Linked DNA regions of Homo sapiens: region 1 is linked to region 2. Evidence: promoter capture Hi-C in human tissues and cell types (Jung and others, 2019). All regions are on one chromosome and are shown on one strand. The core of a region is centred on a gene start or on the middle of the fragment in contact, and the rest is flanking DNA. Distances in the headings are between cores, read along the strand shown.

Region 1 (6,182 bases), core at 3,138-5,637, 190 kb before region 2:
ATGGAAGGTGGAAGCTTGCCCATAGTGAAAGAGGCAAGCCCAGAGAAAAGAGTAGAGACACGGAGAAGGGGTCGGGGGTTCTTGCCCTCCAGAAAAGCAGAGAAGGGGTTGGGGCACAGAGATATTAGGTCAGGGTGCAGAAATAAGGGATCAGGGTGCAGAGATATAAGAGGTCGGGGTGCAGAAATAAGGGATCAGGGTGCAGAGATATAAGAGGTTGGGGTGTGGAAATAAGGGATTGGGGCACAGAGATATAAGAGGTTGGGGTTCCTGCCCCTCCTCTAGAAAAGCGGGACTTGCCGCTAAGAGTGAAGGAGAAGGGGTTGGAGGTTTCTTGCCCCCCAGAAAGGCGGTGAAGGGGTAGAGACATGGAGAGAAGGGGTTGAGGTACTTGCCCCTCCCCTAGAAAAGCGGGACTTGCCGCTAAGGGTGAAGGACCAAGGCAGGTGTCCCTGTGTGGTCTGACACCTCTGAAATGTGGGTGAATAATCAGGCATCCCTGCAATGATTAAACACCAAGGGAAGGCTGCCTTCCCAGTCTGTGACAGGCACCGGAGTTTTGGGTCCATGGATAAAACGTGTCTCCTTTGTCTCTACCAGAAAATGAAAGGAATTGAAATTAAGAGAAGGGAGAGATTGAAGTGTGGCGCCAAGATTGAAAGGAGAAAGAGGCTGAGGGATAGTGAGGGAGATTGGAGAAGAGAGTAAAAAGAGGCTGCTTACTAGATTTGAAATTGGTGAGATGTTTCTTGGGCTGATTGGTCTGAGGACCTGAGGTCGTAGGTGGATCTTTCTCACAGAGCAAAGAACAGGAGGACAGGGGATTGATCTCCCAAGGGAGGTCTCCTGATCTGAGTCATGGCACCAAATTTCATGTGCATCCATGTGAAAAGACCACCAAGCAGGCTTTGTGTGAGCAATAAAGCTGTTTATTTCACCTGGGTGCAGGTGGGCTGAGTCCAAAAAGAGAGTCAGTGAAGAGAGATAGGGGTGGGGCCATTTTATAAGATTTGGGTAGGTAAAGGAAAATTACAGTCAAAGAGGGGTTGTTCTCTGGCAGACAGGAGTGGGGGTCACAAGGTGCTCAGTAGGGAAACTTTTGAGCCAGGATGAGCCAGGAGAAGGAATTTCACAAGACAATGTCATCAGTTAAGGTAGGAACAGGCCATTTTCACTTCTTTTGTGGTGGAATGTCATCAGTTAAGGCAGGATCTGGCCATCTGGATGTGTACATGCAGGTCACAGGGGATATGATGGCTTAGCTTGGGCTCAGAGGCCTGACACATAGGATTTAAAATATGGAGAGAATAAGAATACATGGCAACAATAGCATAATAGATGGAGTGAAATTGAGTTAACATCTAAATGCCTTGCATTTTTGCGGAAGCTTTAAACTACTATCTTATATTAGAAATGAATAAGGATATATATCGTATGTTTAAGGAAATTCACCATAGAAAACAAAAAGGATGTACTATATAATAGTAAACTAATGAAGAATGTAATAATGAACTACTCTCAATATAAAAGAAATAAGTAGGACAATATAAAACAGATAGGACAATTTATTTTATTTTATTTTACTCTAAGTTCTGGGATATATGTGCAGAATGTGCAGGTTTGTTACATAGGTATACATGTGCCATGGTGGTTTGCTGCACCTATAAACGTGTCATCTACGTTTTAAGCCCTGCATGCATTAGGTGTTTGTCCTAATGCTCTCCCTCCAATTGCCCCCCACCCCCTAAAAGGCCCTGGTGTGTGATGTTCCCCTCCCTGTGTCCATGTGTTCTAATTGTTCAACTCCCACTTATGAGTGAGAACATGCAGTGTTTTGTTTTCTGTGCCTGTGTTAGTTTGCTGAGAATGACGGCATCCAGCTTCATCCATGTCCTGGCAAAGGACATGAACTCATTCTTTTTTATGGCTACATAGTATTCCATGGTGTATATGTGCCACATTGTTCTTTATTCAGTCTATCATTGATGGGCATTTGGGTTGGTTCAAGTGTTTGCTATTGTAAATAGTGTTGCAATAAACATACATGTGCATATGTCTTTATAGTAGAATGATTTATAATCCTTTGGCTATATACCCAGTAATGGGATTGCTGGGTCAAATGGTATTTCTGGTTCTGGATCCTTGAGGAATCACCACACTGTCTTCCACAATGGTTGAACTAATTTACACTCCCACCAACAGTGAAAAAACATTCCTATTTCTCCACATCCTCTCCAGCATCTGTTGTTTCCTGACTTTTTAATCACCATTTAAACTGGTGTGAGATGGTATCCCATTGAGGTTTTGATTTGCATTTCTCTAATGACCAGTGATGATGAGCTTTTATTCATATGTTTGTTGGCTGCATAAATGTCTTCTTTTGAGAAATGTCTGTTCATATCCTTGGCCCACTTTTGGATGAGGTTGCTTGATTTTTCTTGTAAACTTGTTTAAGTTCCTTGTAGATTCTGGATATTAGACTTTTGTCAGATTGGTGGCTTGCAGAAATTTTCTCCCATTCTGTTAGTTGCCTGTTCACTCTGATGATAGTTTCTTTTGCTGTGCAGAAGCTCTTTAGTTTGATTAGATCCCATTTGTCAATTTTGGCTTTTGTTGCAATTGCTTTTGGTGTTTTAGTCATGAAGTCTTTGCTCATGCCTATGCAGATAGGACAAATTTTTAAAAAATTCATAGAATAGTCCATTTAAACTCAAATAGTTCAGCTATTACATTAAGTTAATATGGACAAAATCCTGCAATTCGTAGGCAAACAATTTAAAATTGAATACTGAAACAAAATGTAACTGTGTTCTGCTGATAAGAGATGTGTCTTTAATACAAAAATAAGAAAGACTGAAAGTAGAATTACGGAACATGATAAACCTAATCAAAACAAAGCTTGTAATTCTAAAGAAACTATACTGAAAAGCAAGAAATATTTATACATAAAGTTTGAAATTTTATAATGATAAAAAGATAAAACAACAGAAAAAGATGACAAAAATAACTTTGTAAGCATTTAATAACCTAATCTCAAAATGAATAAAACAAAAAAGTACAAAATAAATAAACAATAGAAGAAAAATAATGAATAGCTACATTTACAGTCATAGTTGAATAATGCAGTTTTTCTCAGTAACTAAAGAATAAGCAAAAGATGATTGGATAAATTAAATATGTTATATACATATAATGAAATATAATTTTGCAATAAAAATAAATGAAGTATTGATACATATTACATTAAACATAAATTCAACTTGAAAACTAAGTGAAAATCCAGTCACACCCTAGACAAAAACTTACAAAAAGATATTGTAAAATTCCATTTTTATATAATGTATGTAATAAGTAAGTTCATGGAGTTAGAAAGTATTTTGGTGCTTGCCTGGGACTGATAGATGAAGGTGGGGGAATAATGAGAATGACTGCTGATGAGGACAAGTGTTTCCTTTTAAAGTGATACAAATGTTCCAGAGTTTGATGATGGTTGCACAAATGTGTGAATGCAATAAAAACCACTGAATTATACACTTTATTTGATAAATTATAAATTATTTATCCATAAAACTGCAAAAATGATTTTTTAACTAAAACTTGCATTCAATCTCATCCACCTGTAAATGGCATTAAAATTATTTTCAGTTCAGTATATTCTAGACCAGTGGTTTTCAACCAAGCCTAACTTTGTCTCACAAGGAACATTCGTAATGTCCGAAGACATATTTGATTGTAACAGTAGAGGTGGAGTGGGTATTTGCATTAACTAGGTAGAAGCCAGAAATACTAGTAAAAATCTTACAGTAGGTAAGACAGCTTTCAACCAAAACAATACAAAACAAAACATGTAACTGCCCCAAAATATCAATAGTGCAAAGGTTAACAAGCCCTCTTTTAGAGACATTGATCTCTATTCCTATATAATTTTTAAGCCTCATGGTAATAGAGTCTATCTTGGAATGTGAATGAAGCATAATGTAAACATTACAAGCAACAACATGTCACATTTTTAGAATTTACATCATTCAGAATACCCCTTAGTATCACCTGACCCCAAAGCTTAGAATGATTTTGCCAATTTTGCAAATATGAAAACTTAGATTATGTTATTCTTTTTCTAATGGGCCAAGAAAGGTATAACACTACACTGTCACTTTTTTTTTACTTCTATACTAATTACTTTCTGAATATATATAGATATCTAATCTATCTATCTATCTATTCTTTTACCACTTAAAAATATTATTTTAATCTGTTTAAAACTAAGGCCTAGCATTAAGAGATATACCTAATGCTAAATGACAAGTTAATGGGTGCAGCACACCAACATGGCACATGTATACATATGTAACAAACCTGCACGTTGTGCACATGTACCCTAAAACTTAAAGTATCATAATAATAAAATTAAAAAAAAAACTAAGGCCTAAAAATAAGAAGTGCTATTTTGTCTGACAGCAAAATAAATAAGTAGTTTTTAAAATAGTAAGCTGAAGTTTAATAATTATGTTAAAATTATAGTAACTTTTTTCTGCAGTAATTATTTTTGATAAAAATTAATGCAATTACATGACATAAAATTAAGATATAGTTTAGTAAGAAAAACACAAAACAATAACCATTGTAGAATGAAAATAAGTTTTAATATATGAAAGACTTAAGAATCCTTTAATACATTAAACTGACTGATACTAGTGTTCTTTGCTGAATCATAGGTAACATATTTATTGATTTTTAAAATAGGGTTAGCGTAGAATAAATGAAATTTATAATTTAATAGTCATCAACTTCACATTCATTTTGCATACCACAGGAGAAAAAAAGAGGCTCAGAAAGATTAAGTTCTAAGGATAATTGATTTTAAAATTGGGGCCAGAATTAGGACTCAAACGCATATTTTCTGAGGTCTAGCCCTTTGTATATTACACCCTTGCTGAAGACTAAATTCGAGTGTGTGTCTTATTGGCAGTGAGAAGGCAGATTTGCCAATATGTAGTTTCTAAATCTTGCATTTATTTCTATACATTTTAAATTTAATTTAGAAATAGAACAGGGAGAGTAATGTTAGCAAGATGGTCAATCAGAGTTGTTTGGCACTCATCCCCACAAAAAGGGTTGTGGGGTTCCCCTCCAACATAACAAATGAACAACTATATTTCAGTGGAAGTTACTGAGGAAGTATGCTGGGGAACATAAGGGGAGTGAAAAAATCCCTGTGAAGCACAGAAACTCAGGATAGAACCATAAAAGAAGAGGGAGACACACAAACTCTACCAAATTGTTCCCTCACTGGGATTGGCTCATAGCCAGGAGGGGCTACTGCTTATCGAGAAAAGGTAAGCTGGAGACACCAGTTGTCCCCATTACTACTGCAGATGCCTGCAGGCTGCTACGGGAGGGTCCTGCAAGCCTCACAGTCAACAAATTCTATCTGGGGAGCTTTCTGGAGTTCACATAGCTGTGTTGCCCTATACTAGGAGCCCATTTCGTATACCCACCAACTCCCGTGACCTAAGTTGGAACTGCATAGTACCATCCTGAAACCAGACTGACTGCTAGAGTATGTCCTACTCTGGGGGCCAGTAGCCACTGTGTCTCTCCATCCCTGAGGCCCCAGCATCATTCCACCATGCTCACAAGGAAGGCCACAGAACTACAACCCCAGCTACTTTAAGCTTAGGCCCAGTGGAATGGCCCAAATCCATGCAACATCCCCTCCTCCCTGGGAAACAGGCATATCTGCACAGCAAGAAAGCCAACAAGCAGCTGATTGGCCTGTGGTGCCTGTGTGCCTGACCCAACAGGAAGGATGGCAGCAGCCCCACCCATTGAAGAACCCACCTCAGAGTTGGCCAGCCCACTATACCTATGTAAGCCATGCCTGACAGCCAGACTAGGGGTGGCCCTGCAGCCCTGGAAAGTCCACTACATAGCCAGCTGGCCCACCATGCAAGTCTGTCTAAACAGTGAGGCTGGTAGCGTTGCCCCTAACAAAACTGAGCCATTACAATCACAAACTCCTGTAGCCTAGGCCACTGATGAAATTGCAGACATCATTGATGAGAATTATAGCTAATGAAACTGCAGAGAACCACACAGAACCAAAGATAATGGATCATACTCAACTGACATCCTAGACACACCTATAGGAAAAAGTCTCTCCTTACAAAAGTTAGCCCGTA
Region 2 (5,856 bases), core at 832-3,331:
TAAAATTAGGACTAAGTTGACCATTGCATTATTCTATGCGTAATTTAATATTGACTATGACCAGAAACACTTATGTGGAACAGTGGGGACAAAAGACTAATCAAAGCAGATTCAAGATAAAATGAGAAAAGATGAATGGAGACAGTAAGTACAGAGAATTCCTTCAAGGTGTTTTACTATAAACAGAAGCAAGGAAATGCAGTAGTAGACAGAGGAAGACGGTATGTTAAAGGGGTGCTGATTTTTAAAATGGGCCAACTAGCAGCAAATCTCTTTGTTGTGATGCTACAGAAGGTAGGGAGAGTTGATGATTCCACAGAGAGAGACAAGTGGGTAGAATGGTCCCTTGAGTAGAAGACTATCTAAAGCACAGGTGGATGGCTTGGTCTAAGGAGGGAGCACGGTTCACCTCAAGTAACAAGATGAAGGGAGAGTCTGTGGTCACAGGGGCCAAGTATGTGACTAGATGTAGTGACAGGAGCTTATTGAAGTTTTCTTCTGGTTCTTATTCCTTTTTGGGTAAAATAGAAAGCAAAGCAATCAGCTGTCCTTGAATATGAGTCAGACTGTTGGAGATTTGAGTAAAGGGATATTCTTTAAGCTTGAATGAATTTCTTTCCACAAAAAAAAAATAAAGCCTACTACATAATGATTATTTTTCTTAAAACTCTGCAGAAAAAGTCATCTTGGCATTTTTACAAATAAAATATATTTTTATTCCTACAGAGCAAGAAATACTTCTATTTTTTTTAAAAAAAAAAAAAAGAGGCAATAAAAACAGATATTCTTTCTATAAAATTATTAGTCTAGTTTGCCTTCTTATGAATTGGGAGAAACAATAGGGTAGCCCATTTTGAGTTTACCTTGTGTTAGGAAGCATCATCTCCTTTCTAAAGCCTCTTATAATGTTGGTTAGACCCTGTGAAGAAATCCATAGGACATAGTCATAAAATGTAGTCATAGAAACCTTCTTGCTCATCAGATGAAAGTAAACTGAGGCCAAGAAATATCTTTTGACTTATTTCCATTTGATTTGGGGATTTCATTTTCTCAGTATCCACTTACTTTAAGATGCTAAGAGTATAATTTCTTTGTATGCCAACATGAAAATAAGTCCAAACTATCATTCTTTTCTCATGTTATAGTTATGTTTGTATGCACTAGAGTCTCAGTGTGCATGTATGTGTAATTCCTATTCCTTAGTTTTCATCCTTCAAGCAGTTAGTCCCTTCAAAACCCGATGACAAGACCCAAACATATTAAAAAGTTTAGTTGGAGGGCCCAGGGTGAAACACAAAAACAATTCTTCTTCTTACAGAGCTCTTAGGCAAACACATAGACACTTGTTCTCTGCCTCTGGAATTACAAATATGTTACTCGGAAAGCAGCAATACTCTTTTGGACTTGTTTGACTTCACTTTCTTTACCTGTCTTTAAGAAGCCTCATACACACATTTAAAAAATACAACTTATAAAGGTTTTAGTGATAGTGCATACAATCATTTGATTTTATTTCCCTTTTCTCTTCACCTTCACTAATAGGAGTTACTGGCATGCTTCAAAAAGCTTACATTTGAATACTGTCTAAATCAGTGCAGACCCTTGACCAGCTTAATCTTTGCTTGCAAATGACAATGCAGTGAAACCAGAGGAAGAAAAAAATTACTTCCTTTCCTGTTGGAAACCTAATAAGTAGTTAGTCTGACCCAGTTTTCAATAAGAGAGATTTTCTGATGACCCGACAGGAGTGACTATCTCCAGTCAAAGAAAGAGGAGGGTGAATTTAATCTTTCATGGCCCTGGAATGGCAGCTGCTCTCAGCTCTCTCTGATTCTGTGAAGGTTGATGAAGATAGAGCTGGCTTTCAATGTAGAAAGAATTTTCCTTTTGAATATTCCAAACGAGAGCTTTGCACATGTGCCTCAAGAACTGATTGTCTGGCTCCGACAGGAATGCAGCAGGAGAGGAGCGTATTTCATGCTTAAGACCAGAGAAGAGCCACGCAATACTCAGTGGATAAAAGGCTTGCAGTCCCAGCTGGGAAAAAGAGTCCCATTATCTCCCAGCTGCATAGACATTCCATACGGCTTGGTTCTGCCTGGACGCACAGCATGCCTGGCTGAGAGCTTGAAACAGAGTTCTGCAGAAAAACTGTAAAGATCCCGAGACATTTCCCTGGTAAGATCTGTAAGTACAAAATTGTGCTGTGTCTGCTGCAATGAGAATATTGCTGGGCAAGCTGCAGCTTTTCTTCCTTTCAATGTCTTTGTATTAGCATAACAGGTAAAAGCTGGGGTTGGGGGAGAAGTCACTGCTTTATTGATGCTGTGTTTCTATGATGCTGATGTTTAAAATGCATTTATTCCTTGTGTGGGAGAAATGTATTGAATCTGTATTCCGGGAGGTTAGGATCAAACCAGGGAAAGAAAGACTACAGGTATATTTCTCAGTGTTTCACTAGTCTTTGCTGCAGTAAAACTAATGGGCAAGACGGGATGACAGTGCTAATTCTGGGACTTTCAGATGGCTACACGCCCTTTCTGTAACGGCAGATGGGAAAATGTGATCGCTAAATGTTTTTTGTCTTTTTTTTTTTTTTAATCAAAGGGATGAGGGGTGGGGTTTGCAGTTCTCACCGGATGATTTAAAAGAATGGTTATAAAGTTTCCTAGGGGAGAATTTGGTAAGGGGAGCAAAGCAAGACTGGAGGTCATATGGGCTCACCAAATTTTGTCTGGCATTTTGCTTTATACCCAGCTTCTAGATAACAGCCTCTGGAGTTTCCTTTACCATTTACACCAGTTAAGTTGTCAGTATTAAGGTTCTTATAATACTTTATGAAAACTTTCAGAAGTTGATGACTTGGGAACAAAACTTTTAAGAGCTCTGAGATTAGCCACGTATAACCCATTATGTTAATGGGATACTGTAACATTGGGGTTTGGGGGGAAAATTGGAATTCATAGTTTTTGCTTCTCCAAATGAAAACTACTTATGTTTAAATAATCAGCATCCTGACTATGTCCTCTGAGAAACATTCACAGAATGACTAAATAGAAGTTATACTGAGAAAAAATAGAGTGAACAGTAGAATCACACAGAATCAATTTGGAAAATGAGGTATTCATAATTTTATCTACAGTGGCAATGTTTTCTGAAGATGTCTGTAAAAGAAGAAGCATATGCTGAATATTGAATTGCTTGTTTTGAGCAATTTTCATTTATCTGATGGGTTTATCATCTTTTTATTTTTGTTGTTGAAGGTTTCACCAATTTATGTGCATTGTATTTTATAAGGAAAGAAATGTTTAAGCAGACTCTTTTTCCCTCCTCCTTCACACACATGTGTAAACATACGCATGTTCACAAAACAAACATAAACATACAAAAATACTTACACAATTTGTGTAAAAAAAAAGAAATACAGAAGCATTTCATCTTTGATGTTTCAGTGGGGTTTCTTTTTCTTTTTTTAAGCAATAATCATGGCTGTGCAGTCCAAAGATTTCAAATATATAAATGTGGAAACTTTTATATAAAGCTTTATGTGAGGTTATATAAATGCATAACTTATCACATCTTAGCAAAAAAGTCAATCATTTATAAATGACTTCATTGCATTACTTCCTTTGAATATTTGTAGTGAAGGACCAGAATTTTTTTTTAGAATTTTTATGTAGCTTTCCTTAATGAAAACAAATTCACTTGTTTACTTAGAAAAGGATCACATATTTTCTCTGAGTTTAGAACCCCCTCTAAAAAAAATCAATTATGTTGTGAAAAGGATGTGTGGTATATTAAATTGATTGCATACTTCTGGGTTTTTTTTTTAGTAAGTAAAAATGCTCAGTAGTATAATAGTAAATTTGTACCTTTTAAATTCTTTTATGTGAGGAGAAGGAATACAAAATATTTGCTTATTTATTCACTGTTTATTTTAATAACATATTAATTGGAATGCAGAAGTATAAGTTCTACCTATTAAAAATGACTCAAACTATACATAAAAGTTCAAAAGGGAAAACCCATCACCTGTAAATAACAATCATGAAATTTGGCGACTATCATTGGAGACATACTGGTGCCTAAATTCAGATAAGATGAGAGATAAATACTTTTGTAAGAATGGTTTCTTACTATACACCTTTTAAAAAATAAATAATAAATATTTAGATAATATAGTCAATAATAGATACTCTTCTGTAAGAATGAGATCTTATCCTACACTTAAAAAAAAACAGAAATATTGGCCGCGCGCGGTGGTTCACACCTATAATCCCAGCACTTTGGGAGGCCGAGGCGGGCGGATCACGAGGTCAAGAGATTGAGACCATCCTGGCCAACATGGTGAAACCCCATTTCTACTAAAAATACAAAAATTAGCTGGGCGTTTTGGCGTGTGCCTGTAGTCACAGCTACTCAGGAAGCTGAGGCAGGAGAATCACTTGACCCCGGGAGGCGGAGCTTGCAGTGAGCAGAGATCGCGCCATTGCCCTCCAGCCTGGGTGACAGAGTGAAACTCCATCTCAAACAAACAAACAAACAAACAGAAAACAGAAAACAGAAACATTGAGTTTAATTTTTGATTTTAGATTTTAATTAAACTGAAAAAAGAGAAGTTGAAACAACATTGAAGAAATTGTTAAATTTCATGTATAGATTTCTCTCCAATGGAGATATTATGTCCAGAATAATACCCTTACAGTTAAGACCAAAAATTTTGAAAATAGAAATAGTTTGAAGATTTTTTTGGATGCACGTTTAAATAGTAAACAAACTTTTATAACCCTTGTTATGATAGTTAAATGCATTTGCAATGTGACTTGTCATCAACTCCACCCATACCACCTCAATTTAAACTACATCAGTTTTACATTACTGAGTACATACATTCTGGCTGAATTCCCATGGTCTCAGTTTAAACTTATTTCAAATTTGTAAGGAATTATCCTTTATCAACAGGCTTTTACTACCCAATTCACCATTTCTGTGTTCTTTATTTTCAATTATTTTTTGGGTTGTTAGATTTCAGTAAGTAGTACCTCTCCACCAAAGAAATAGTCATAGGTGCTATATTTTCTATGAGTTTGCATCTTGAACATGTATTTCTTTTGCCTTAGACATGCAAGATACGTTATCTTTCTTGGATCAAGCTTAATTTTTTCTTTTGGAAATGTGTAAATGTTTAAACATTTTTGGAGACCCTTCCTGTACTGAAAGTTGTTTTGCAACATTTTTAGGTCTGTCTGCAATTTCCGTCATTGAATGTGACTTGCTTTTTTTCTGATAAATGCCTACATGATTCTTTTGTTGTGTGTGTGTGTGTGAGTGTGTGTATGGGTGTTTGCTTTTACAGAATATTCCTGGATTTGTTCCATTTTCATTAACTTTTTTTGAGGTTTGCCCCATTAATTTAAGATTCTTTTATTTTAGGATTTGTTGTACTATTTCTTTTTTGTCCCTTAACTGGGCGTGGCCAAATTGTGGTTATCTTGCTTCTTTCTTTTCTTCAGGATCACCAATTTTGTACATGTTGTATCTCATTTGTCTACTTTCCACATCTTTCATATCCAAATTTCTTTTCAATTTTAATTGACAAATTGGTTATCTTCTTTATTTGAGAACCACTTGTTCTCTTGTTTGCCACTTGAATGAATAGTATAGCTTGCAATAAACCTATTAAGGCACAACCTTCTGTATTGTGATCTTGTAAATACATGTTTCCTTCTCTTAACACTCTAGCAATTTCCTCAGCTGGCAGGTTTTTGGGCAATCTGTATCCTCCTGAAAGTAAGAGAAAAAGAAAGTACTGATCGGTTTTCTCTGATGTCCCCCAAAGGTCCATGATTTTTAGTA

What was found. The method cuts DNA at HindIII sites, captures the fragments that hold promoters and counts their contacts. A contact is called where the count stands out against the background at its distance.
Region 1: a fragment that was not itself captured here is called in contact with the fragment with the promoter of CNTN6 in region 2 in 1 of the 25 tissues and cell types used here (H1 embryonic stem cells).

What each region holds. Positions count from the first base shown.
Region 1 is chr3:895,131-901,312 of GRCh38, forward strand. The region is part of intron 2 of LOC107986059 (a long non-coding RNA gene); the gene reads left to right. Among named protein-coding and RNA genes, the nearest start is that of CNTN6, 190 kb to the right of the region's middle. The HindIII fragment of the contact is 4,490 bases long and covers 2,143-6,182 here.
Region 2 is chr3:1,090,943-1,096,798 of GRCh38, forward strand. CNTN6 (contactin 6) reads left to right here and starts at 2,082. Exons shown (of 23, transcript NM_001289080.2): 1 at 2,082-2,178. The HindIII fragment of the contact is 3,264 bases long and covers 1,084-4,347 here.